6 separate regions of the Homo sapiens genome follow, and regions 1, 3, 4, 5 and 6 are each linked to region 2. The links are contacts of gene promoters, found by promoter capture Hi-C in blood cells and fetal thymus (Javierre and others, 2016). All regions are on one chromosome and are shown on one strand. Each heading gives the region's core, a stretch centred on a gene start or on the middle of the fragment in contact. The rest is flanking DNA. Distances are from core to core; before and after follow the strand shown.

What was found. The method cuts DNA at HindIII sites, captures the fragments that hold promoters and counts their contacts. A CHiCAGO score of 5 or more calls a contact.
Region 1: a contact is called between a fragment that was not itself captured here and the fragment with the promoter of SEMA3D in region 2, in 1 of 17 cell types (M2 macrophages). The highest score is 5.9, in M2 macrophages.
Region 3: a contact is called between a fragment that was not itself captured here and the fragment with the promoter of SEMA3D in region 2, in 1 of 17 cell types (activated CD4 T cells). The highest score is 5.4, in activated CD4 T cells.
Region 4: a contact is called between a fragment that was not itself captured here and the fragment with the promoter of SEMA3D in region 2, in 1 of 17 cell types (total CD4 T cells). The highest score is 5.1, in total CD4 T cells.
Region 5: a fragment that was not itself captured here is called in contact with the fragment with the promoter of SEMA3D in region 2 in 1 of 17 cell types (naive CD4 T cells); the score reaches 5.1 in naive CD4 T cells.
Region 6: a contact is called between a fragment that was not itself captured here and the fragment with the promoter of SEMA3D in region 2, in 1 of 17 cell types (endothelial precursors). The highest score is 9.9, in endothelial precursors.

Annotation. Positions count from the first base shown.
Region 1 is chr7:83,967,914-83,971,770 of GRCh38, forward strand. The region is part of intron 15 of SEMA3A (semaphorin 3A); the gene reads right to left. Among named protein-coding and RNA genes, the nearest start is that of SEMA3A, 220 kb to the right of the region's middle. The HindIII fragment of the contact is 6,553 bases long and covers 1-3,857 here.
Region 2 is chr7:85,184,408-85,188,379 of GRCh38, forward strand. It overlaps SEMA3D (semaphorin 3D), which reads right to left and starts at 2,649. Exons shown (of 19, transcript NM_001384900.1): 1 at 2,271-2,649. RefSeq lists a silencer at 2,461-2,520. The HindIII fragment of the contact is 2,551 bases long and covers 1,100-3,650 here.
Region 3 is chr7:83,751,499-83,755,524 of GRCh38, forward strand. No RefSeq gene overlaps it. Among named protein-coding and RNA genes, the nearest start is that of SEMA3E, 100 kb to the left of the region's middle. The HindIII fragment of the contact is 741 bases long and covers 1,156-1,896 here.
Region 4 is chr7:83,881,520-83,885,254 of GRCh38, forward strand. No RefSeq gene overlaps it. Among named protein-coding and RNA genes, the nearest start is that of SEMA3E, 230 kb to the left of the region's middle. The HindIII fragment of the contact is 758 bases long and covers 972-1,729 here.
Region 5 is chr7:83,827,081-83,831,132 of GRCh38, forward strand. No RefSeq gene overlaps it. Among named protein-coding and RNA genes, the nearest start is that of SEMA3E, 180 kb to the left of the region's middle. The HindIII fragment of the contact is 1,235 bases long and covers 1,871-3,105 here.
Region 6 is chr7:83,934,027-83,937,977 of GRCh38, forward strand. No RefSeq gene overlaps it. Among named protein-coding and RNA genes, the nearest start is that of SEMA3A, 260 kb to the right of the region's middle. The HindIII fragment of the contact is 6,870 bases long and covers 1-3,951 here.

The DNA of each region.
Region 1 (3,857 bases), core at 253-2,752, 1.2 Mb before region 2:
AACATTTATCATTTCTTTGTGGTGACATGTAAAATCCTCTAGCTATTTTGAAATATATACTACTTTATTATTTGCTATAGTCCCCCTACTGCATGCTATCAATTTGATTCTTTATTAAAGCAAACAGCCGTACATATAAATGGCAGCACAGTATAGCTCTACTCTAGGTACTTTTCAGAGAGTATAATATTTAATTCATGGTTATCCAATATAAACAAAAACTCAACTAAGGAAATATTGGTGAGTACATATTTTCTGAAAGATATGAAATCTTATATATTGAGGATAAGAGTGATATAAAATCTTTTTCTGGATTAAACCAGTTGATCTGAGAGCAGTTTACAAGGAACACACCATGTTAATCACATCGGACAGTTGATTTTATTAAATTGGTTTTGGCAGGGTGTTCCCACCCTATGCTGAGTGAGACCTTTGTCAATTCTCCCTTATTCACTGTATTGATGTCACAATATTTTTGATATGATATTGATTGCATTACAGTGTTTACTCTATGTTTACTTTTGGAAAATTTTTCTTTCTGGTTTTACTTTCTAGAAATTATTGAGATTCTCGTGAACAACAGATTCTTTTATTTTGAAATGGACTTTGTGATCATACTTCCATCTACATTGACTGAAAAAAAGCAGTTAGACAAATGTATGTCTTACCCTTATAACTTCTTGGTAAATATTCTTGCCGCATGTCTGTCTTTGTTCTCTCTCAGTCTTCTTGCTCTATGTGTGTGACATTGTTGTTATTTTTATCTTATCTTTATTTTTACCAAACAATTGCAACTCATCTTTTATATGTTAGATAGGTCATTTAGCAAATTTTAGACAGTGAAATATTTTTATAACCCTTTTTTTTCTTTGTTTCTTTTCTTTTCTTTCCTTTTTTTTTTTTTTTTTTTTTTTGGAGAAAGAGTCTCACTCTCTCACCCAGGCTGGAGTGCAGTGGCACGATCTCGGCTCACTGCAACCTCCGCCTCCCAGGTTCAAACAATTCTCCTGCCTCAGCCTCCAGAGTAGCTGGGATTACAGGTGCCTGCCACCACAGCTGGCTAATTTTTATATTTTTAGTAGAGATAGGGTTTTACCATGTTGGCCAGGCTTGTCTCAAACTCCTGATCTCAGGTGATCCGCCTGCCTCAGCCTCCCAAGGTGCTGGGATTACAGGCATGAGCCACTGCACCAGTCTTTTATAACCCTTTCTATTGTTGTTCTTAAAATATACTTGTACAAAAGTCTTAGCACAATATCTGGGCACAGCAATAGTCATAAACATGTCAGGTGACATCATTATTACTGCTATTATGATAGATTCAACTGCTAATTAAATCTTAAAATCCTTTATTGAGAATCCAAATGAAGACAAATTACACTCCTCAATGTGAATCCTACTCCCCTACAACCATCAAAGAAATATTTCCTCTTCTATATTGCCAAAAAAAATCTCTTTTTAGTTATCTCCTTAGAGTATGTGTAGTTATATTTGTTACAATTATTTTTAATCTGGTTTATTCCCCTGGCCCACCACACTGTGTATTCATAATCCTGGCAGAATGGTAATCGTAAACGCTTAGCTGATGTTTGCTAAATGGCAAATCCAGGTAACACATTGAATTTAAAACCTGAAATCTCATGTAACTTTGACATCCTCAAGACATAGAGTTATCATAATTATATAAAAGAAATGAATAAAAGTTTAATCAATCAAAAAGAAAATAGAGTTTATAACCCTGATTATGATGGAATACTTTATTGAACTGCTGGAGGATGTAAGCATTTCAAATATTCTAAATTTGTTAAGTTTAATAATGTTATAAAAATTGACTTGAGAGAGGGTGGGAGATAATGATGACTAATCATGTCTACTCCAAAATCAAAAATTCCAAATAGGGAATAATAAGAAGAGAAAGAGAACTGAGAAGTCATATGAGTATCTTCTCACATCTCCAAGGATACCTATATCACTAAAGGATGTCATGTAATAGATAATTTTGTGGGCTTCCAGAAAGAAAGCAATCTCATTTTAAATCATTTCTAAATAAATTTCACACTTAGAAAGCAACTGTTTTGCATACAAACTTTTGTCATGAAAATTGCGAGTAGAAAAGAAGGGTATCCTTGTTAAATTGGCATAATGATTCCCCACGGGTTCAACCATCTGAATGGTTAGAACAAAATAATTGAGAGCAACAAAACATTAAAATTATTTTAAAAGCACCACAGTGTGTTTGGATAACACAATGTTTCAATATGTTGCAGCTGTTAATGACAAGAAATAATGTTTTTAAGGAAGCAATCTTCAATTAATCATTTCCTCTTTTAGTGGGATAATTTATGGAAATGAAATGAAGCTAATAAACCAGAAAGAATGGGAGGAAAGAAAATAGTTAAATAAATTGCTTCCTTTTGTAACAACAAAAAAGTCATGATATCCATCATTTGACCAGAAATATCATGTTGCTAAAGGCCTTATTTAGCATTTGATTCTCTTCCAATATAGCAGAAACAGAAGGCATCACATTTCAGCTTTCTATTTATTCACTCTCCATTTTAACCCCATAAATGTCTCGCAAGATTGAAATGTTAATAATGCAACCATCTTAGGAAATTTGATGTTATGTAGAGAAGACAGAGATGGATGAGGTTGTGAACCATATTCATTCAATTTTGATTTGTTATCAATTTTGATGTTCTACTTTATTGTAAGTTTAATTTGTAAATAATACATGTAAAACTAAAACATAATTTAGGAGATGGGTAAATGAATGCCAATTATTTTACATATTTATTTAGGTTATTTAGCAAATACAGTTAGTTGCTGTACCACATAAAGACAAATAAAATTCCAGTGGTTTTTATTATAATTTTAGTATTTCTCTCAATAATACTCAGTGTCAAAGGTCAAGAATAGGAGGAAAGGAAATGTTGCCCATAAACTCTTGGTAACACAGAATACTGTAGCAATGCCTAACTTAAAGTATAAACAGCATTACTTAGATTTTTCTCATTGGACTCTACATGATTTTCTGCAGAAATACAATAGATGCTCTATCAGTAGAAAAGACTAATTTAACTTCCAGTGGCTGGAAAACATTTCAAAGATGAGTCAATATCTCTTGAAAATACATAAACTATTTAAAAATTTATAAAATGAAAACAAAAAAATTCATTCATTCTTAACATTCATGTATATTTTGAACCTGAGCATTAAGATGGCTAACAGGCAGGCGTGGTGTTTCACACCTGTAACTCCAGCACTTTGGGAGGCTGAGGAGGGTGGATCACCTGAGGTCAGGAGTTCAAAACCAGCCTGACCAACGTGATGAAACTCCATCTCTACTAGAAAAAGAAAAATACAAAATTAGCTGGGCATGGTAGTGCATGCCTGTAATCCCAGCTACTTGGGAGGCTGAGGCAGAAGAATTGCCTGAACCCGGGACGCAGAGGTTGCATTTTGCAGAGATTGTGCTATTGCACTCCAGCTTGGGCAATAAGAGCGAAACTCCATCAAAAAAAAAAAAAAAACCTAACAAACTATTTAATAATATCATATATTGTAGTGCAAATAAAAGTCTACAGTATATACTGAAGTATATAACAGTGATTTTGTTTACTTTTTGAGGTAATGCCTAGTACAATGTCTTTCCAATGTCTAGTATGACATTTTCACCAATTAGATTCTATGTAAATATTCAATGTGTTTTTGCAGGCATGTATGTGTGCATGTACCAACAAATGAATGCATGAATGTGTAGTTAAGAACATGCATGTGTGCTTAACCCATTTACTAGAAATAGGACCAATAAATATGAAGTTAGTGGATGTAGCTTGCCAAGTACAAAAATACAA
Region 2 (3,972 bases), core at 1,399-3,898:
TTTTTTTTTAAGAATTACGGTTCTTCATTAAGAACATAAAAGCCAAAATGGGACAATACCCATTTATAAATCTTTATGTCTTTGTTTTTTTTTTCTTTTCTGTTCAAAAAGAAAAGAATAAGAGAATAATGACACTTGTATCATATTGTTGAGGATATTAATTGTGATAAAGTTCACAGCACCTGAAACACAATAGGTGTTTGATAAATGTTTCTTCCCTTCTCTAGGAACTTTCCATTTCACAATTGGGCAAATTCCATTGGAAATTTTGGCAATTCGAATCAGTACTGTTTTACTGTCTGTCAGCCCTTGACCCTACTCTTATCTCGTCCCACATCACCTTCCTGTATTTCCTGGCCTTTCCCTTCCAAGAGCCAAGGTCATTGCCCATCTCCCTGACCAGGGCCATCACTTTGCGCCTGTCAGCGATGGCACCCCTGACCCGTCTTATCCGCTGGGGCGAGTCTCAGAGACTCTAAGACCCGACTGGGTTAAAGCAGTGGCCAGCTGGGGCTGATCACTCCCAACCCCGATCTTCTTGCTCATCCTCCTTGCTGTCTGGCCTCGGAGAAGGAAAAGGAGAAGGGAGGGCATCATTGGAGTGATGACATGTGTGTCTTCTTGCTCATCCTCCTTGCTATCTGGCCTCAGAGAAGAAGGAAAAGGAGAAGGAAAAGGAGAAGGAAAAGGAGAACAAAAAGGAGAAGGCAAGGCATCACTGGAGTGATGACATGTGGCTCTCTCCCTTCTCTGCCCTTCACATTTTTCTTTCCACGTGCAGAACTGGGAAGGCTCTGACCACCCCTGCCCCCGCGGTTGCCATGGTTACACAATAGCAGCAGCACCAGACCCAGGAGATGTCTCAGACCTCTCCTCTACCTCCGCCTCAACCCTTCCCTCTCTGTTAGGAGATCCTCCCCCTCGTCTCTGCGCGCCCCCACCCCGCCATCCCCCGCTAGCGCACACATGCAGGAGAACCCTTTTTAGGCTAAACCGGAAAGTTTAGGTCTTCTCCCCTCTTCTTTTGCTTGTGCAAATAGCACTAAGCTAAACGGAAAGTGGTGGGGTTTTGGTGATGAAATAAGAGTCCACGCACAGAAGCTTGCCTTTTATTACCGCTTCGCTCGAGGCGAAATCGCTGAAAGTTCGGCTATTTAACTCCTGTCCCCATAACTCGGAATCCCGGACACCAGCGGCCCCAGCTGCTGGCGCGCGGCTCTCTTCCAGTCCCCTGGATCCCAAAGCTCCCTGCCACAGCGCGGCGTCTCCTCCTCCTGTCAACTTCCCTCCTTGCACTGTGACGGAGGCAAAGCAACTCAGCCCAGGAGGTTGAACTCGAGTCATCAGAGAAGGAGAAACAGTGCCGAAAACGGCCCGTGCGCTACCAGGGTAGCCCATTAACGCATTAACTCCAGGCTCGTTGGGCAGAAGCCGGGAGGAAACACCCTGGGGACCGCACTCCTGGTTAAATGCCCAGCACGAGTCAAATCCGGCCTTTCCAAAGCGAGCCAAGCCCACTACTACAAAGAGATCCCCCGAGTGTTTTGCCTTAACCACATTTCAGACAGCCAGCTTTGTGGCTGCTGTTTGACTCCAACTTTCCCTCTAAATCTAAAAGGATGCACACTTCCATCAGACGGAACGTCGCGATTCCCCGGCGAAGAAAAAGGCGTCGCCCATTCCTCTTCCAAAACGCTACAACAAAAACCACCACGCTTCCCTTCCTTCTTCCTTGCCCCTTTCCCTTCTCCCAGACCAACAAGGAAAGGAGCGAGCGAGGGCGCAGATGCCCTTTGGTCAAGTACTCCCCGGATGTTCCCGACTAAAGCGTCTCCAAATGAACCTGCAGCCTGCGGAAGCCGGGGACACATTCATAGACGCTCTCTGCTGCCCAGACCAGGAGGGGTGGTGGGGGAACCAGGAAGCCAGGGAGAGAGCAAAGTTCCTGGACGCGTCTCAGGAGGAAAACTTTGTGCAGTGCTGCCAGGCGGAGGCTCGTCAGAAGGCTCCGCAGCTGCTGAGGCGGGGTGGGACTGCGCCCCAGGGGCCGCGCTGAAGCTGGCGCCGCGATTACTGCGCACCGATTTCGCCCACTCTCTGTCCGCTCCCGGGAGCCTTCTCTGTCTCAGGACGGTTCCTTATCTCCCAAACCATGCTCGTCCTCCACTTCGGACCCACAGCCACCCCCAAATCCCGGCTATCCCCGCTTAGCACCGCGGTCTCCAGCACACCCTCCCACTGGAGTAGCAGGTGACCCAAACCAGACTTACCTGCTGTGAACTCTTCTCTCCCTCTCTCTTTTCCTGGTGCCTTTTCAGGGAGAGGGGAACGGGATGCAGGCTGAGGTCCAGCGGCGCGGCAACCCGGGGCACCGGCGCGCGTTCCTCTGAGCCGCAGCCCTGGCTGAGCAAGCGGAGCCGCCGGCAGCCCTGGCAGAGCCGGGAAGCTGCGGCCGCAGGGGCCAGGCCGGGAGGCAGGGGGCGCTGCTGCCTCCCCCGAGAGCCGCGCTAGGACAGGCGGAGAGCAAGGCACCAGCTGGAGCTTTGGGGAGGAGAGGGTGGCGAGGAAAGGCACGCTCCAAACAGGAGGGCGGCTTTTAAGTTTGTGGTGTGACCGCAGCAGCTGTCCTGGGAGAGACTCAGTCTTTCTAAAAAGAGGATGCTGAAAACGCCGGGGATTACCTTTCCCCTTCCGATCTCCTCCCCCAGCCCTCGCCCCCTCCTTCCACTGCGCACGCCAGAACTCCCAAGCGTGCAGAAGTTCATCCCTGCTGCGCGGAGGCTGCCAGCAGCGTGGATTTAGAGGTAGCCCTGGCCAAGCGCTGACGGATGTTTATCAGGACAGGGCACCCTATGTGTAAAGCAACCTCTAACGTCTGATCTTCCTTCTGGGTGACTTGGGGACTTCTTTAGTTCCTTCTCTATACCATAAAACCTGTTAAGGGACCCCATGAGGAAGAAACAGGGAGAGTGACCACAAACACCGTCCTAAAAATGCTAATCCCACAAAACAGTACCTGCGTTCCACTATGTAAAACCTCAATCCACGGTTAATGGCCTTGACAAGGCAGGCATAGGGATGAGGAACAGGGATCAACCCTCCGTTAAGGGGCTGGCACCCGATTAAGACCAAACAGGGAGAGATAAAAACGAGTAGAATGTAATCCTTTCTTCCTCTTTCCCTTACGCCAGACCTACAAAGAGGTGTGCCTCATATCCTTGTCTTCGGGAGTTTTTTAGATTTTTGCACCCCTTATTCACACAGTAGGAACTTAGAAGTATATAATGACGAGAAGATCTAAGTTTTGATGAACCTGGATCCTATGCAATTGGAATAGAGGATCCTCTTTAAGCAAAAGTAATGCAGAAATATCTCACTTCTACAGATTCTGCAAAAATATATGACAATGAGAGTTCATGAGGCCACCGTCAGGGACATTAAAAAGGCCTGTGCATTTGGTGAGCCCTGTACGTTAGGCATTTTTAGCTGCATGGTAAATCCTTTGTGATGGGATATCCAGGTTTATAGTCACACACCTTGCCCTTAGTCCCAAACATAAATCTGACATGAGGTAGAGACATGGAAAGCAAGCAGCCACGGGATCCTGCATTTGTCAGCTTGATTTAAGAGCACAAGGTGTAGGGTCCCAAAGCTTCCTTAGCAAGTAACAAGAGATATCTTGATTTGGAGATGGTGAACAGACAAATGCAGTAATGGAATAACTGAAAGGGGTGGAAGACATTCTTCATTTGACCTTTTATCTGTGGCAGAGGGCTGAGGGCCACAGAAGCTAAAGGAGTCATTTTAAGTTATAAATGGTTGATGGCAGAGTCAGGCTAAGGAAAGGCTCAGGTTTCTCAAATCTGACCAAGGCTCTTTCTTGTGTCTCATGCTGCCCCATCTCTATAACCTTGGTTTGGACTCACAACCAATCAACCCCATAAATACCCTCTTTGGATAGAGAAAAAAATT
Region 3 (4,026 bases), core at 276-2,775, 1.4 Mb before region 2:
AAACAACAGTGAACAGTGAGTCATTTTATTTATAAAAAACTCTGCCTTTCTGTTTTTAGAACTTAGTGGACCTTCTCTTTCCTGCTTAGCAGGCAACTGCAGTTTGTAAGTTAGATCTGTGTTTTGTTTCTTCTGTACAATCTAAAAGTTTACAAGTTAATATGACATGGAAAATCCAGTTTATAATAAAGTTACATGATGTTCATTAATTGTGAAGTGAATAAAATGAATTTCTTAGTAGCAAATTTTGGAGGACAAAAATATATCAAAATATAAGGTTTAATAGACAAATTTTCCCTACATAACCGCATATTTTCTTTAAGGATGATCTTTTTATAATTTCATTATTTGGTAAACAGTTTGCCTTTGAAAAGTGAAATTTTTGTATAACAGCATACAAAAAATGAAGAACAATATTTAATAGGTAATATATTTACAGAGTTCAAAAATAGTAAACTGTTAATGAGCTGTACATTGAAAATTCTCCAATTTGTCTGTTTTCTGTCTATACGTTATACACCTCACTCCTACATAACTTCTATCGTTAGTTCTTGTACATAATTCTTGTTTTTGTCCTTCCTTTCTTTAAGCATACACAAATGAACATAAGTATGTATTTTTAATACTCACTTTTTTACATAAAATGTAACATGCATGTTTTGATTACTCATTTTTACCCCTTTACAATATATCATGGAGGCCTTTCAGCATCGGTCTCTTCATGGAACTTAATAAAAAGACACTTTTACTGGAGAGGAGTGAAGTTAGAATAACCGCTGAGGCATATATAGATATAGTACTTAAATCATAAGCCCCAGGGCAATAAAATTATGTATTATCCTTGAAATTAAAAAAATATAATATAACAGTAGATTTTCACTGATCTATAGTTTTATCATAAAATTTAACATCAATATTAATTCTCCCTAACCAATAATAAATCTATATTTCAAGTGTTATTTTAATTGCACGATAAGTCTAATTAAAAAAACAGGTAACATTCTCTATTATTTTAAGGAAATTATTTCATATAAAGTAAGATAATGAGAAGGGTCTGTACAGGTACATCATACAGAGTGGGAATCTCTGAACAACTAAAACTAAAATGAGGGGTTACTAAAGTCTAAATATGTTCCCCCTAATTGATGTGTTGGAAGCTTAATCCCCAGTGCAACAGTATGGCAAGGTAGGGCCTGATGGGAGGTGTTTAGGTCATGGAGGCTTCAACCTCATGAATAGATTAATACAACCATAAAAAGGGCTGGCAGGAGTGGATTCCCTCTCTTCTGCTTTTTGGCTATGTAAGGATACAGCCATTCCTCTTCTCTGGTGGATGTAGTAACAAGGCACCATCTTGGAGCAAGAGATCGAACCTTCTGGTGCCTTGACCTTGGACTTCACACCCTCTAGAACTGTGAGAAATAAATTTATTTTCCTTATAAGTTACTCAGTCTTTGGTATTCTGTTATAGCAGCACAAAAATTTCAGGATATTGAATGAAACTAAATATGGACTAGACCTTTTCAAATATGGATTAGAAACTTTTCAAATTGGAAGAGATAAGCCATTTGAAAGGCCAAGTTAAATGAAGACTAAATTAGGATTAAAAATAACATTTTTATTGTAATATACCAAATTTTAAATTATAGAGGAAAATTATTTACTCTAAATGATTTTTACTCTAAATGAAGTATTCACTCTAAGAGATGTTATCTTTTGTTAAATATATATATTTAATTTTGGTGGTCATGAGGAAAGACTGCTAAAAAATCTTTAGCTTCAAAAGGGAAAAGGACTTACTAAAAATGTTAAAAATAGACTTAGCATGAGACCCAGCAGTTTCAATCATAGGTATATACTTAAAATATTTGAAAACAGATTCTCAAAAAAAAAACAAGCTTGTACACTCATGTTCATAGCAGCTCTGTGAACAATAGCCAAAAGGTGGGGAAAGCCCAAATATTCATCAATGGATAAATGCTTAAACAAATTATGGTACATACATACAATAAAATATTATTCAGCCATAAAAAGAAATGAAGTGTTTATGCAGATACAACAGTGGAAGAACTTCACAAACATTAAGATAAATGAAAGAAGTCATACAAAAAAAGGTCACATTATGATTCCATTTATAAGACATGTCTGGATAAGGTAAATTCAGAGACAGAATACAGATTCATGATTGTCAGAGGCTAAGGGGAGGGGACAAGAGGGAGAAACTGCTTAATGGATACAGAGTTTTATTTTGAAGTGACGAAAATAATTTAAATCTAGATAGATGTGGTGATTGTACAATATTGTAAATGTCCTAAATACCACCAAATTGTCCTTCCTGAAATGGTTAACTAACTTTATATTTTATAAATTTCATCTCAATACATTTAAAAAAATCAATTCTAGAGTCATGGCCAGAGGCAAAATAAAACTTATTGAAATTATTTTTTTTCTATTTTCTCTCATTTATTGTAAGCAAAATAACAGGCGACTTAATAAGCAATCTATACAGCTTTATATATTGTCAGGATTTTTTCTTGGGGAGCTATTCTTACCCTGTTTAAAATAACATACTTTACCAATAAGTTGCATAAATATGAATAATATATTTGCAGCAAGATGCTTTTGATTTTAGTACAGTGTATTTTCTCATTTAATATTGTGAATATTAGCATTTGACAAATAATGTTAATTTGTAGAGGAAATTCCTTGACTACAGCACATATTCCTAAGTGTTTACAAGATGGGTTTTAGAACAGATATGAGAATATTCTATCTTTCATTAAATTTTATATATATGTAATATTTTTAAGCGTTATCTATATTAGTCTGTTTTCACACTGCTAATAAAGACATACCTGAGACCGGGCAATTTACAAAAGAAAGAAGTCTAATGAACTTACAGTTCCACATGGCTGGGGAGGCCTCACAATCATGGTGGAAGGCAAGGTGGAGCAAGTCACATCTTACATGGATGGCAACATACAAAGAGAGAGAGCTTGTGCAAGGGAATTCCTCTTTATAAAACCACCAGATCTCGTGAGACTTATTCACTATCATGAGAACGGCATGAGAAAGACCCACTCCCATGATTCAATTAACTCCCACTGGGTCCCTCCCATGACACATGGGAATTGTGGGAGTTACAATTCAAGATGAGATTTCAGTGGAGACACAGCTAAACCATATCAGTATCCTATTTGCATTCATGGAAGGGGAGGAGGAAATAATGGCTTCTAACCTTCTATACACCTGCCATAGTAGCTCCATTTTTACATCTCTGGCCACAAGAATTTTTATGTGAATATTGTCTTTTTCCAATTATTAATACTTTCCTAAGCCATTTTTATTTCATTTTAATAAATTCAGTAAATATCTTAAAAAAAAAAAAAAAGGAGAAGAAGCCATGCATGGTGACTCATGTCTATAATCCCAGTACTTTGGGATGACAAGGCAGGAGGATCACATGAGCCCAGGAGTTCAAAACCAGCATGGGCAACATAGTGAGACCCAATTTCTACAAAATATTTTTAAAAATTAGCCAGGTGTGGTGGTGCTCACCTGTGGTTCTAGTTACCTGGGAGGATGAGACAGGAGGATGGCTTGAGCCCAGGAGTTGGAGGCTGCAGTGAGCCATGTTCTTGCCACTGCATTCCAGCCTGGGTGACAGAATGAGATCCCATCTCTAAAAAGAGTGGATAATAAGTCACTTAATTACTAAAGTTACTAAAATCACTGAGTCTAACAATGGTAAACCTCAAATTTTATTTTGTAAATTTGGATAAAAGTTTGCTACAGAGATTTACTTATTAAAATTATATACTAGAAATTAAAGTAGATAATTTGGAAAACAAACATGTTGGGAGAGCTGGAAAATAGCTGTCTTTTTCTGTACTCTGGGTGTAAAAGAAGGTTGATGATTTGGGCATTGTAGAGTTTAGTTGTTTTCCAACTTAATGCGTGTTGACATTGATGCCCTCCCACAATGTAGAGGACTTTAAATATAAAGCTATAATTTGGATGTCATGT
Region 4 (3,735 bases), core at 101-2,600, 1.3 Mb before region 2:
TCAAACCAGTCAAACCATGACTGGTTTGACCAAACCAGTCAAACCATGTCAAACTCCAATTTAAGGATTCTTTTTTCATTGTAATATTCCATACACTTTTAAGGATGACTAAATTATGGTATGCACTCAATAAATATGGGTTGAATGAACTAGCAATATGGCAATAGATTACTACAGATGATTTTTTTTCAGGAGGTAATACTCAGGAACTTTCAGCATCCATGTTTCTTGACATTCCAAATCCTTAATTTTATAGTTGAAGAACCTAATGGTAAGAATAATGAATACTGTGCAGCTGGGAGACTGAATGCCTTGATTCTATTTTATGTTTTCAGGTGGGTTTTCTTTTAGATGATAAATCGTTTTTAATCCACATATAATGCATATATTTAGAAAAACTACTTATAAATATATAAGTAATTGGCCTTCATCTCTAGGCCTTGTGGTATTTGACTTGTAAATTAGGGTGTAGGGTCATTAAAGATGAAGATAATTTTTTATTGTATTTAGTATCTTTGTATTATCAGAATATAGCCCCAGTAAAAATACAGAGCAAGATAGTTACATAGAAAAAAATCTTGTTGTATGTTGAGAAAATTTGTGTTGCAAAATTTTATCAATTGTCAATGAATGAAATACTTGAAAAATTGAGGAATATAAGGAGATTTTGGATAGATGACTTTCAGATACCTTAAAATCTATTTGTGGATATAATATATGTATAGGCAAAGGAATTACAGTGCAAGGTAAGAATAAGACAAACTAATGGTAGAAGAAGCAAGTTAAACTTTGATCTAAGAAGATAGCTTAGAGTCAGGAAAGTCTTTATAGAGGAGGGACAATAGCACCTATATTGGTGATAAAATATAAACATTTTCCTAGATTACCCAAATGAAAAACAATTTAATAAATTAATAGCATATTAATTATTTAAACCTGAAATATAAAAACAGAATACATAATATGATTAAAGCTTTGTAACCCAACCAGGGTCATATGTAAAACTCTAGGTGACCAATTGACTACCACAAAAGACGTTATAATTCCTATTTACTCCAGACATAAAGAGTTACTGCTGGCACAGCTTCTTTTCCTTTGAAAAGGAACACATACCTTTAATGTTTTAAATGCCTGCTGAGCTGACTATAGCTCACAAGTATAGACAATGTTTATCTTCCTAATGCCCAGAAAAGTGATGACATATCAAAATAAAGTGAACAAACAGCCCTTTTTAATGCTTACAATAGTGAATGGGTCTGAGCAATTTGCATTCCAGATCAAACTGAAAAGGAAACTAATCAAAAGCTCCATGGATCAGTGACACAATATGATTTCAAATTTGATCCTTGTTATTCAAAGAATCTGAAAGTCTGTTTGTATCAAGCTGATTATCTATTTTATTAAAATCCTTAATGATCATATGAATAGGGCAGTTGTTTGAGGGACCTGCTTTATTATATATCTACCTGAATCTATTTGCTGTATCATTTCTATACACATTTTTGTTGTCATCATTTAGAAATGCTGTATTTCTTTTGTCTCTCTTTCCTCCTCCCTGCTCCAGACTTTCCTTTGCTCTAACCATACACACATTGGAACACAAGCACACACGTACACAGCACAGCAATAGATGCACAAATGACAATTACTTCATTATCCTTATAATTGAAATTAGCCTAAGGTAAGGCTCAGGCTAACCAGTGAGAATCTCTATAGATACCGAACATAAAGCTTTTCATATGAGCATAACATAAAGCTTTTCATAAAGCTTTTCATATGAAGAGTTAAAAATGAAATCATCAAGTGAAGTGGTCTCTGCACACTTCCCTTCACGTTACAAAAAGGGACTCAAAATGAGTAATTTTTACATGAAAGGAATTTTTTCTTGTCCTTCTTTTACTGTCCCTAATATAATCCTTAATAAATCTGCCTAATATCCCAAAGAACAGACAGTTCAAGAAAATAAACAAGTAGGGCCAGGAAAGAGTAAATCTCTAACAAAGAAATGAGAGATTAAATAAACTTAAATAAAAAGGGAAATGTATAGTAGACTTTTGCCACTTGAAATAGTAAATATCAGTGATATGAAAAATTTGATGTAACTGAATATCTGATTCCCTCACCTATGTGAAAGAAGTAAGTCATTATTGCATATATCTTTTTATTCCACTGATAAAATGTCCAACTCTTTCTGAAACTTATCCTTTGTTTACTTCTCAGTTATAACCTTATGACATGGTTGGAAATTTTATAACAAATTTTACAGTAAAAACTTAAAGAAAGATACAAAGTATTTCCTTGAAAGATAATATAAAAAATAAAGAGCTTGTGCCATTAAATTAATATTTAAAAATTATATTCTAATTATCTTATTACAATTAAATTTCATGTTCCAAAATAAAAAGTCTAGGTGATTACCATACTTAATTTAATTTAAATTAAAAATTGATACTTTATGATAAAAATTTATTTCAGGATTTATACCCACGGAAAATATATTGCGTGTATCCTTGAGACAGCAGTTTTCTGCTTTCTCAAAGAAAGACCTTAACATTAATGGATTTCATATGTTGGGTCCTTTCCTGTATGTACGCAGGCAGTTAGATGTCCATTTTCCAAAACTATGAAATTATTTCAGTGAGTCTTAGACCATCCCAGAACTAATATTACTCTTTTTCTGACTTTCTTTAAAAGACTTTGTTGAGAGGCATAGGAAGAAGGGAGTCTATTTCTATAAACTCGGTTGAAATTCGAAGCTTTAAAGAAGCAAAATCAATTTCCGTCAAATAGAAATAACTTTTGATGACTCTGAAGGGATTTTTTTGTGTGTATGTGTGCAAGGAGCAGGATAATTCCAGGGAAAATTTCAGATTGCCGGCGGAGGGGATACTACAAAGACCTTATATGGACTTCACTGGATACATTTAGATGCTATAAAATTATAGCATTTAATGTGTTAGGAATATCTTCTGGTATTATTCTAACTGTGTTCCCCACATCCAGAAACATTTCTCAAAGATGTTGCCACTGGGGGTAGCAGTGGGATGGGAGTGGAAGTGAGAAAGGAACGCTTGGACTATGAATCTTGCTTCAATGAGAAGAGATCCATTTTATGAACTTACAATTTTGAGCTTTCCTGTTGAGTTTCACTCAAAGAAAAATATGTGTCCATTTTGGACCTCTAGAAAGTAGATGCCGATATGGAATTTGGAGTGTAAGATATTGGTTGTGGGAAATATCTGTGAAGGACAGAGGTGAGAATGAGCAAGCATACATGGAATAGAATAATCTTAGTCCTTAGAGAAGTAGATGCCAAAGTGGGATTAAAAATATCCAGATTTCATGTAAGAAACTTGTATGAAAGGAAATAGGAGGCCAGAAAAGGCTTGTATGGCTATAAAACCATGGCACCAGTCTGATTCTAAAGAAAAGGAAAGGAGGGATGGATGGGAGTCTCTCAGACAGCTGTCTAATCTTATAGAGGATCAGCAAGACCTTTCAAAGAATTCTCAAGTTAAGGTTGGCCTTCCAAAGATACCCATGTCTACCAGGAAAAGGGCTGCCTTAGCATCCACTTAGCATCCACTTAGCAAACACTCAGTCCTTTGCAGGGAGCATCACATGGATAGTGAAGTCTAATTACAAACTTGGGCAATGGATGTCTCATTACAAACTTGGCAATTGATGAGAGCTAAGTGATGATAACTCATGGACATAAAGGGGAATAACAGACAC
Region 5 (4,052 bases), core at 1,238-3,737, 1.4 Mb before region 2:
GCATGCACCACCATGCCTGGCTAATTTTTGTATTTTGTGTTTTTTTTTTTTTTTAGAAGAAATGGGGGTTTGGCCATGTTGGCCAGGCTGGTCTTCAACTCCTGACCTCAAGTGACCCGCCTGCTTTGGCCTCTCAAAGTGCTAGGATTTCTGGCGTGAGCCACTGCATCTGGCACAATTATTGTTATTTTTAAGAAATCTAATTCTGTTGCAACATTTAAAGGAATACATTAAAAATGATAGGTTTTAAATTATTTTTTTAATGCTGAGTAATCACTGAGTTTGCTTCATACAAAATACATTCCGACAATCACCAACAAATCTTCAAATAACCAGGAAGGTAGAAGCCTAAATGGATTAAAATCATGGGGTTGATCAGTATTACTCAATGTTCCCATGTACCAACTCTGCACATGTACCCCCTGTATCTAAAATAAAAGTTGAAATTTAAGAAATAAAAACATGGGGTTTAGAGTCAGACTAACTGGCTTTCTTCAGTTATTGTGTGACCTCTGGCAAGTCTCTTAATATTGCAGAGCCTAATTTTCCTCATTTGTAATGTAGGAGTAGAAAAGCATACCTCTTCATGAGGTGTTCTCAGTTAACTAATGTATTGTGTTTAGTGTCCAAGAGAGTAATCACTCAGTAAACATGAGTTTCTTCTCCCTATTATTTGACTAAAAAGAAAAAGCAAAAAATAAAAATTTAAAAAGCAACAGGAAGACAAATCACTGAGTATAAGCAATTTTGGATTATTTTATACTCAGTGATACTCAAAATGGAAACTTTATTTCCTATACAACCAAATTTTAGTGGTGTTCTCTTCCTGGAACAAGCAAATTCAATTCACTTTGAACAATTCACTTGTTCACAAACAATTAAAATAAGTGCTTAAGCTAATCATTTTGCATCCAGGCTGAGACTTCCAGGGTATGGCTGGCATATCTCATTATGTAGTTTGTTTCTACAGTTTTCCCTTTCTAGAAACCACACATCCCCAAAACCTATATGTGGTATTCTTATTCAGGCATGAATTATATTGGTTGATCTTTTCTGTGCAATTTCTATAACATTTATCATATAAAATGTGGAAGGAGAGCTCAGTTCTATCGTTATCAATTAGCATTTATATCCTTGGTGTTTTGGAGGTATTAAGTATTGGGTTTTTATTATATACAAAATACATTTGTCTACACTTCTGATTTTTGTACTGTTGAAAAGTTTTAACAATGCGTTTTTAAGCTAAGAGATGCCTTCCTCAAAATCCAACTGCAGGCTCTCTACTCCATCTTGAAGTTAAACTGCAAACAATATTAATGCTCACAAAACAGTAGGCAATGAGGACTCCCACCTCTGCAGTGAGTAGGGTCTCAAACCAGTCCAGGTGCTCTAAACAACTAATAGTATGTGGCTGCCGTAGTGGTCCCAGGTTACCATTTGCTGAATGAACTGGAGCTTTCCCATTATGTCAGCAAGCATTATGTCTGCCTAGGCAATATGAATGAACTTTCTGTCTTGCTGTCTTGGTTTGCATTTTGGTTTCTTCTCTGAGACTGAGGTCCAGACCATTATCTAGTGTGTTCAGACTTGAAAACCTACCAAGTTCACCCAAAATCTGATGTAGCTTGGATGTTTGTTTCTATCCAAATTTCATGTTGAATTGTAATCAGCAATGCTGGAGATGGGGCCTGGTGAGAAGTGTTTGGGTGATGGGGGTGGATCCGTTGTGGCCTGGTGCTGTCTTCAGGATAGTGAGTTCTTTTTCGATCTGGTGGTTTAAAAGTGTGTGGCACCTCCCTCATCCACTCTCTTGCTCCTGCTTTTGTCATGTGACATGCCTACTCCTCCTTCGTCTTCCACCATGATTGTAAGCTTCCTGAGACCCTCATCAGAAGCCGAGCAGATGTTGGTGCCATACTTGTACAGCCTGCAGAACTGTGAGCCAGTTAAACCTCTTCTCTTTATTAGTTTCTCAGTCTCAGATATTTATAGCAATGTAAGCATGGCCTAATATCATACAAAGTCCTAATCCCCAAAGTTGGATTTCCCTCATCATTTTACTTCTACCACTGGCCGATGTTCCTTTCAAAAATAGACTATTTGCTGTACTATTATCCTCCCTCTGAGCATCTTGCTACTTAGAAATGCCAGCCACTGAACTATATCCAACAGAGAAATCATTTATCAGGGTCAAGTCTGTTTCTCTATGACTTAGAGCACTGGTTCTTGAATTTGGCTGTACATTGGAATCACCCAGGAAGGTTTATAAACTCTTGATGTCTGGTCTCAGACTCAGACATTCTCATTAATTTGATATGCACAGTGGAATTTTCTTTATTATACTTGAAGTTCTGGGGTACATGTGGAGAATGTGCAGGTTTGTTACATAGGTATACATGTGCCATGGTGGTTTGCTGCACCCATCAACCTGTCACCTACATTAGGTATTTCTCCTAATGCTATCCTTCCCCTAGCCCCCCCATCCCCGGCAAGGCCAGGGTGTGTGATATTCCCCTCCCTGTGTCCATGGGTTCTCCTTGTTCAACTCCGCACAGTGGAATTTTTAAAAGCTCAGCAGGTGATTCTCATGGGCAGTCTAGACTGAGAACCACATATTTAGAGTGCTAACTCCAGGCCTCCCCTGATGCCTACCTTAACCGAGGTTATTTCACTGTGCCTTAGCTACACCTTTTCCTCTTCTACCTACATATTCTTCTGCCTTTCTTGGAGATCCTGATTGTCTTTGTAGCTGAGTTTATTTGAGGAGTGACAATAGAATTCTGAGGTTTGTGTTGTTGTTGCTGTTACTTTTGTTTGTTTTTGGTAGATTCATTTGTTTTTGAAAGGTTAGATAAATGGCAGAAAGAATTGAATTATTTCAAAGAAGTTATGACTGACATTTTACTGCTGCTCTTCAGCAAGAAATGAAAAAAAAAAATTCTACCAATTGACAAGTCAAGGACATACAGAGATACATTTTGGGTTCGTTACATTAGCAGTCACCAAAGTAATGTGGAGGGAAGTGTGCAAGATGATCTGCTAGCATATCAAAAAATATTTGAAATTCTATGTGATTGTTTTGGTAGAAAAATAGAAAAAAAATGAAGCTTTAACAATCCATATAGCACATGAATTAATATTGGTGCTCTCGCTTAGTCCTTCATTTACTTGATCACTTGCCTTGCAAGTTATGTGAGAGGAAAGCTCTGCAATGGATTATAGCTTTTGTGTGTACAGGTAAATGGGTGTCAATCTGATATGTAACATTATGGAAAATACTCTCACAAGATGGAAATGGCTTAATACCAATCTCTTAGTTAACTGTAGGTTGAAAACTATAGGTTGAAAATGTTAAAAGATAAAAGAATAAAATTATTTCTAATTTTGGCTTGTGTAAAAACTATTATGGAAATAACTCCATAATTCAATTTTTATCATTATTTTCATTTAATAATAGCAAAATAGTGAGCAAACTAGGAAAATTTTTAATAGCTGAATTTCTTACTTAATACGATGTCACTGAAAAATTATTATTGTGAATTACTTATCGAATACCAATAAATGAATAAATGTTACTTTTGTAAGCATTTTATACACTATCTCAGCATATACATTTGATCCCCAAATATAAAAAGAATGTTTTTTAGTTGAGCACTCTCAACATTTTTGTGAGGTATCCACCTTTCAAGATAAACCCAGAAATTCCTGCCTGCTGGAATTCATGTCCTTTTGTAGTCCCATTTCACTTGTACCAGAGTTGGTCAGGTAACCAGCAGCTCATTGTGGAAATGATGGTATATCATTTTCATGTTCAGGTTATAAAAGATTGTGGTAGCCAGGCATGGTGGCACATGCTTGTAGTCCCAGCTGCTAGGGAGGCTGAGGCAGGAGGATTACTTGAGCCCAGGAGTTCCAGGCTACAGTGAGCCATGGTAGCACCACCACACTCCCAGCCTGAGCACTCTCTCTCTCCTATTTCTTGTTCTTTCTCAGATCACTTACATGGGAGGAAGCCAGTTTCTATGTTGTGAGTTGCCCTTATGGAAATGTCC
Region 6 (3,951 bases), core at 1,108-3,607, 1.3 Mb before region 2:
AATACTAGCATAAATGGCATTTAATAATTAAAGCAAGTTTCCTCTCACTGTTCTCTATCTCAGATTCTTGTTTGTTCCCTTCATTTTATACACTAAATATGGACTTATTTTAATTGTTTTCTTTTTAAAGTTTGTCTTATTCTCACCGTAATGCACATCAGAAGAGGTCTTGTACCCTTTTTTATTTTATTCACAGTTGTGTCCTGGGACTTAACCAGAGCAACCAAAGCATAGTAGAAAATTAATAAATATTTGTTAAACATATTAATTTAATACACTAAAAAGTATTTTCTTAATATTTACCACTAGAGGGCATTTTTCTTCTGTCTTAAAATTCTAGTTCTTGAAAGAAAAAGCCTTTTTTTTTTTAAAGCTGAAGGTACTGAGTACCACTTTATTAACTTGTAAAGATAAAATATTTCAACCATCTCAAGTTATGAAAAGCATATATTCTTTATGGCACATATTAGCTTAAAATACATAAACATTCATATTCTACAGTAACATCAGCTCAAATTTAAAACATTGCTCTAATAAAATATTCAGATTTTAAAATTTAGATTAATATATCAGTATTTTAACACATAGACATACACACATATAGGATTATGTAAAATATTTCAATGATGTAAAATAGACATGATGGCCAAACACTATATATTTTGTAGCATTTTAGTTATCTAAAAGTATAATATGGATTTGATAAGATTTGATAAGAGAGAAGGATATTTTGATTAAGTTAAAGAATAAAGCCTTTTTCTATAGAAGAGGACAAAACAAAATCACATGGTCACAACAGGGCTGTCTTTCAGCTTGAATTGCTGTTTGGGTTTCTCTGGAAGCAGGAGATGGAGTTCCTGCAAAGTGTTCACCAGGGAATACTATTGGGGTCATCCCATGTGGACAGGAGGGTAAGAAAGTAGGACTGGGCCAAGACAAAGTCCAAACTCAAGGTAAGAAGTTGAAGTTGACAGGAATCAACCCTCCAAGAAGTTCTGGAGCTACAATGGCACATCAGAGGAGTCCCAAATTAAGTCAAACTGGCTGGCTTTTATATTCCTGACCCCAGCAGTCATCAGATGTGGGTGGACAGGGGAACTGGAGCAGTCAGTTTGCTGTAGCTGAGGAATCTCTGAAGAAGCCTGCAACTGAAGTGTGAGGCAGGGAGTCCTCGGAAAGGAGCTCTGGGAAGGGCCTGGCTACAACTATCACAACTTAGTTTTGTGAAAAATTTATGGGAAACGAGGGTTAGGTGGGGGCTGTGGAACTGGCAAGTATATTTAGAAACACAGTACATATTGTAGATGGAATAGAATTGTTTCAATGTAATAATTTTTTACTGCATGGATGTTTAAATGACATTATTAAAAATTAAAGGTCAGAAATTGAGAAAAAAGTGTAAAGTGTCCATGCATAAATTAGGTTTTAAGTAGAAGACGTTATGAAGATAATTTAACATTAATAAAACAATTTTATAATTTTGTTATATTTTTGATATACGCTTGCTCTAATTTGAATGTTAATATTAATGTCCTTGAGTAAAGAACATGGTTTTTTTTTTTTTTTAGACGGAGTCGCGCTCTGTTGCCCAGGCTGGGTGCAGTGGCGCGATTTCGGCTCACTGCAGGCTCCGCCTCCCAGGTACGCCATTCTCCTGCCTCTGCCTCCCGAGTAGCTGGGTCTACAGGCACCCGCCAACACGCCCGGATAATTTTTTTTTTTATTTTTAGTAGAGACAGGGTTTCACCGTGTTAGCCAGGATGGTCTCGATTTCCTGACCTCGTGATCTGCCCGCCTCGGCCTCCCAAAGTGCTGGGATTACAGGCGTGAGCCACCGCGCCCGGCCAAGAACATGTTTTAACCATCAAGAATTTCCACACTACTTAATAGCTAATTTACCTAAAGGAATTTACAATAAAATATAAATAACTATTTAGGAAATGAAGCAAAAAGACCCTCTCTTCACGGTAAAATTAACTTTGCTGTTAATGTTCTCTGTCAAAATACATCCCTTTGTCCTCCTTCTTCCCCTTTCATCCCACTTTACTTTTTAGAGTGCATTTTTACTTCATTTTATGCAACTGGAAGTGGAGTAATATCTTCATGAGGAAATGATATTTTTAGCTATTCTGTAATTCAGCTTCAAAGAAATGAAAATTCTTTGAACAATAATTTTCTTTCCGAAGAGATTCAAAGCCTTCTGTATGTGCTCAATGTTGTTAACCAGCAGATGGCACTCTTGCTCCTCGGCAGTGAACCTGGAGGCTTTGAAACTTGTCAAGAGTGTGGGTCAAATATCTTCCTTTGAAAGAAGTATAATAAAGAAGGCGCCTTCAGCCTGTATATCTGAACCAATAGAGATTCTTTATGTGCAGGTGCAACTAATCCTTTCAAGATGTAATGAAGCTCAATAAATCCTCCTTTTGCAATATCTTCACTGGTCTTTCAGGCTGATTCTGCTTTTTGTGAGAAGAAAAGTGCAGAACAGCTCAGCACAATGCTACATGTTTAAGCAATAAGGAGACTGACCCATTGTCTCATGTCAAGCTGCCTGGGACGCAATTTCCTTTTTCCTGTTCTCAAAATTAGCTGATGAGAGCAAGTTCCCTAGGTGAGCATAAGTTCCCCATATATATTTTTTTCTTTCTTTCCTGAAGTAAGGTGGCCAAAGAACTACGCCTTCGCTAGCTGTTATTCTCCATTTTATGTGCTGGGAAAGTCACTTGAGCACAAGAAGTTATTTTTCATATCTACATCACTGCTTCTTATTAATAAAACAAAGTACTTACCTGTTATTCGTTTTCCTTTTAGCCATTTCATAAATTCTGAAACTACCCATTGGAAATATTCAGAACTCTTATTAACACAGGGATTGATAGCATGCAAGTTTGGTGTTTTGTTTTTTTTTTTGTACAGGTAAATTATTGTTTGTTTATTTAGTTATATCACAAAAGATAACAAACCTTTTGGACAGCATATTCAGTACCAATCATTTCATGTTAGCATTTTTTTGCCATTTTTTAGGAAATCTCAAATTCTCAGATGTAGTTAGCTAAGAATATTATTGCTAACTGGCTATGTCTATAAGAAATAATATAAATGATAATGAAATAGGACTTTACTTTTAGTTCAAGAAAATTACAATATCAGTAATATCAATTGATAAGCTATGAGTCTTAGCCCTTCATCACACTCTGTTTGGAAAACCAGCAGTTGCTTCTGAGAGTGGATGAAAAACAAAATGAGAGGAAGGCTGCAATTACTCATATGACAATTACTTGTATTTGGTGTTGGCGTCGTCTGCCCTTAATATTCTTCCATTTTTCTACTGTCATTGTATTGATACTAAAACATGCTGCCAAAGACAGGATTAAGAGGTCTGGAAATAGCATGTTGAGCTTACTCCAAGCCATTCCTCTTTATGACTGTATGCTAGTGATAAAGACAGGAGACAGAAATACTGGGTAGAAGAGGGCAGTTTCCCAGCAAAGGCCCCACCCTCAAGCCTGGAAACCCGTGGCCCTAAATGAGAACAGGTATTCCTGTTTTCACGCCCAAAAAGTTGCCTTTTGGCCTGCTATGCCCCCTATCCTGTGCCCACATAAACTCCACATCCCAGGCTCCAGAAGCGGCCGAACAGATGAAAAGCAGAAATGCAGGGCATTTCGAAGGAGAGAAGAGAAGGAGTGTCTGAATGCCGAGAGGAGTTTGTCTGGGGACTATTGGAAAGGAGGTTGGCCACTAGACAGCCAAACTCCAGGGGAAGATCATCTCCCCACTCCATTCCCCTCCCAACTCCCCATCCATTCTGTGGAGAGCCACCTCCACCACTTACTAAAACCCCAGCTTTCACCCTTCTAGTCTGTGTGCGACCTGATTCTTCCTGGATGCTGGATTGGACCTGGGTGCCAAGAGGGTTCACTGAGCTGTCTAACACTTAAGCCATCCGTG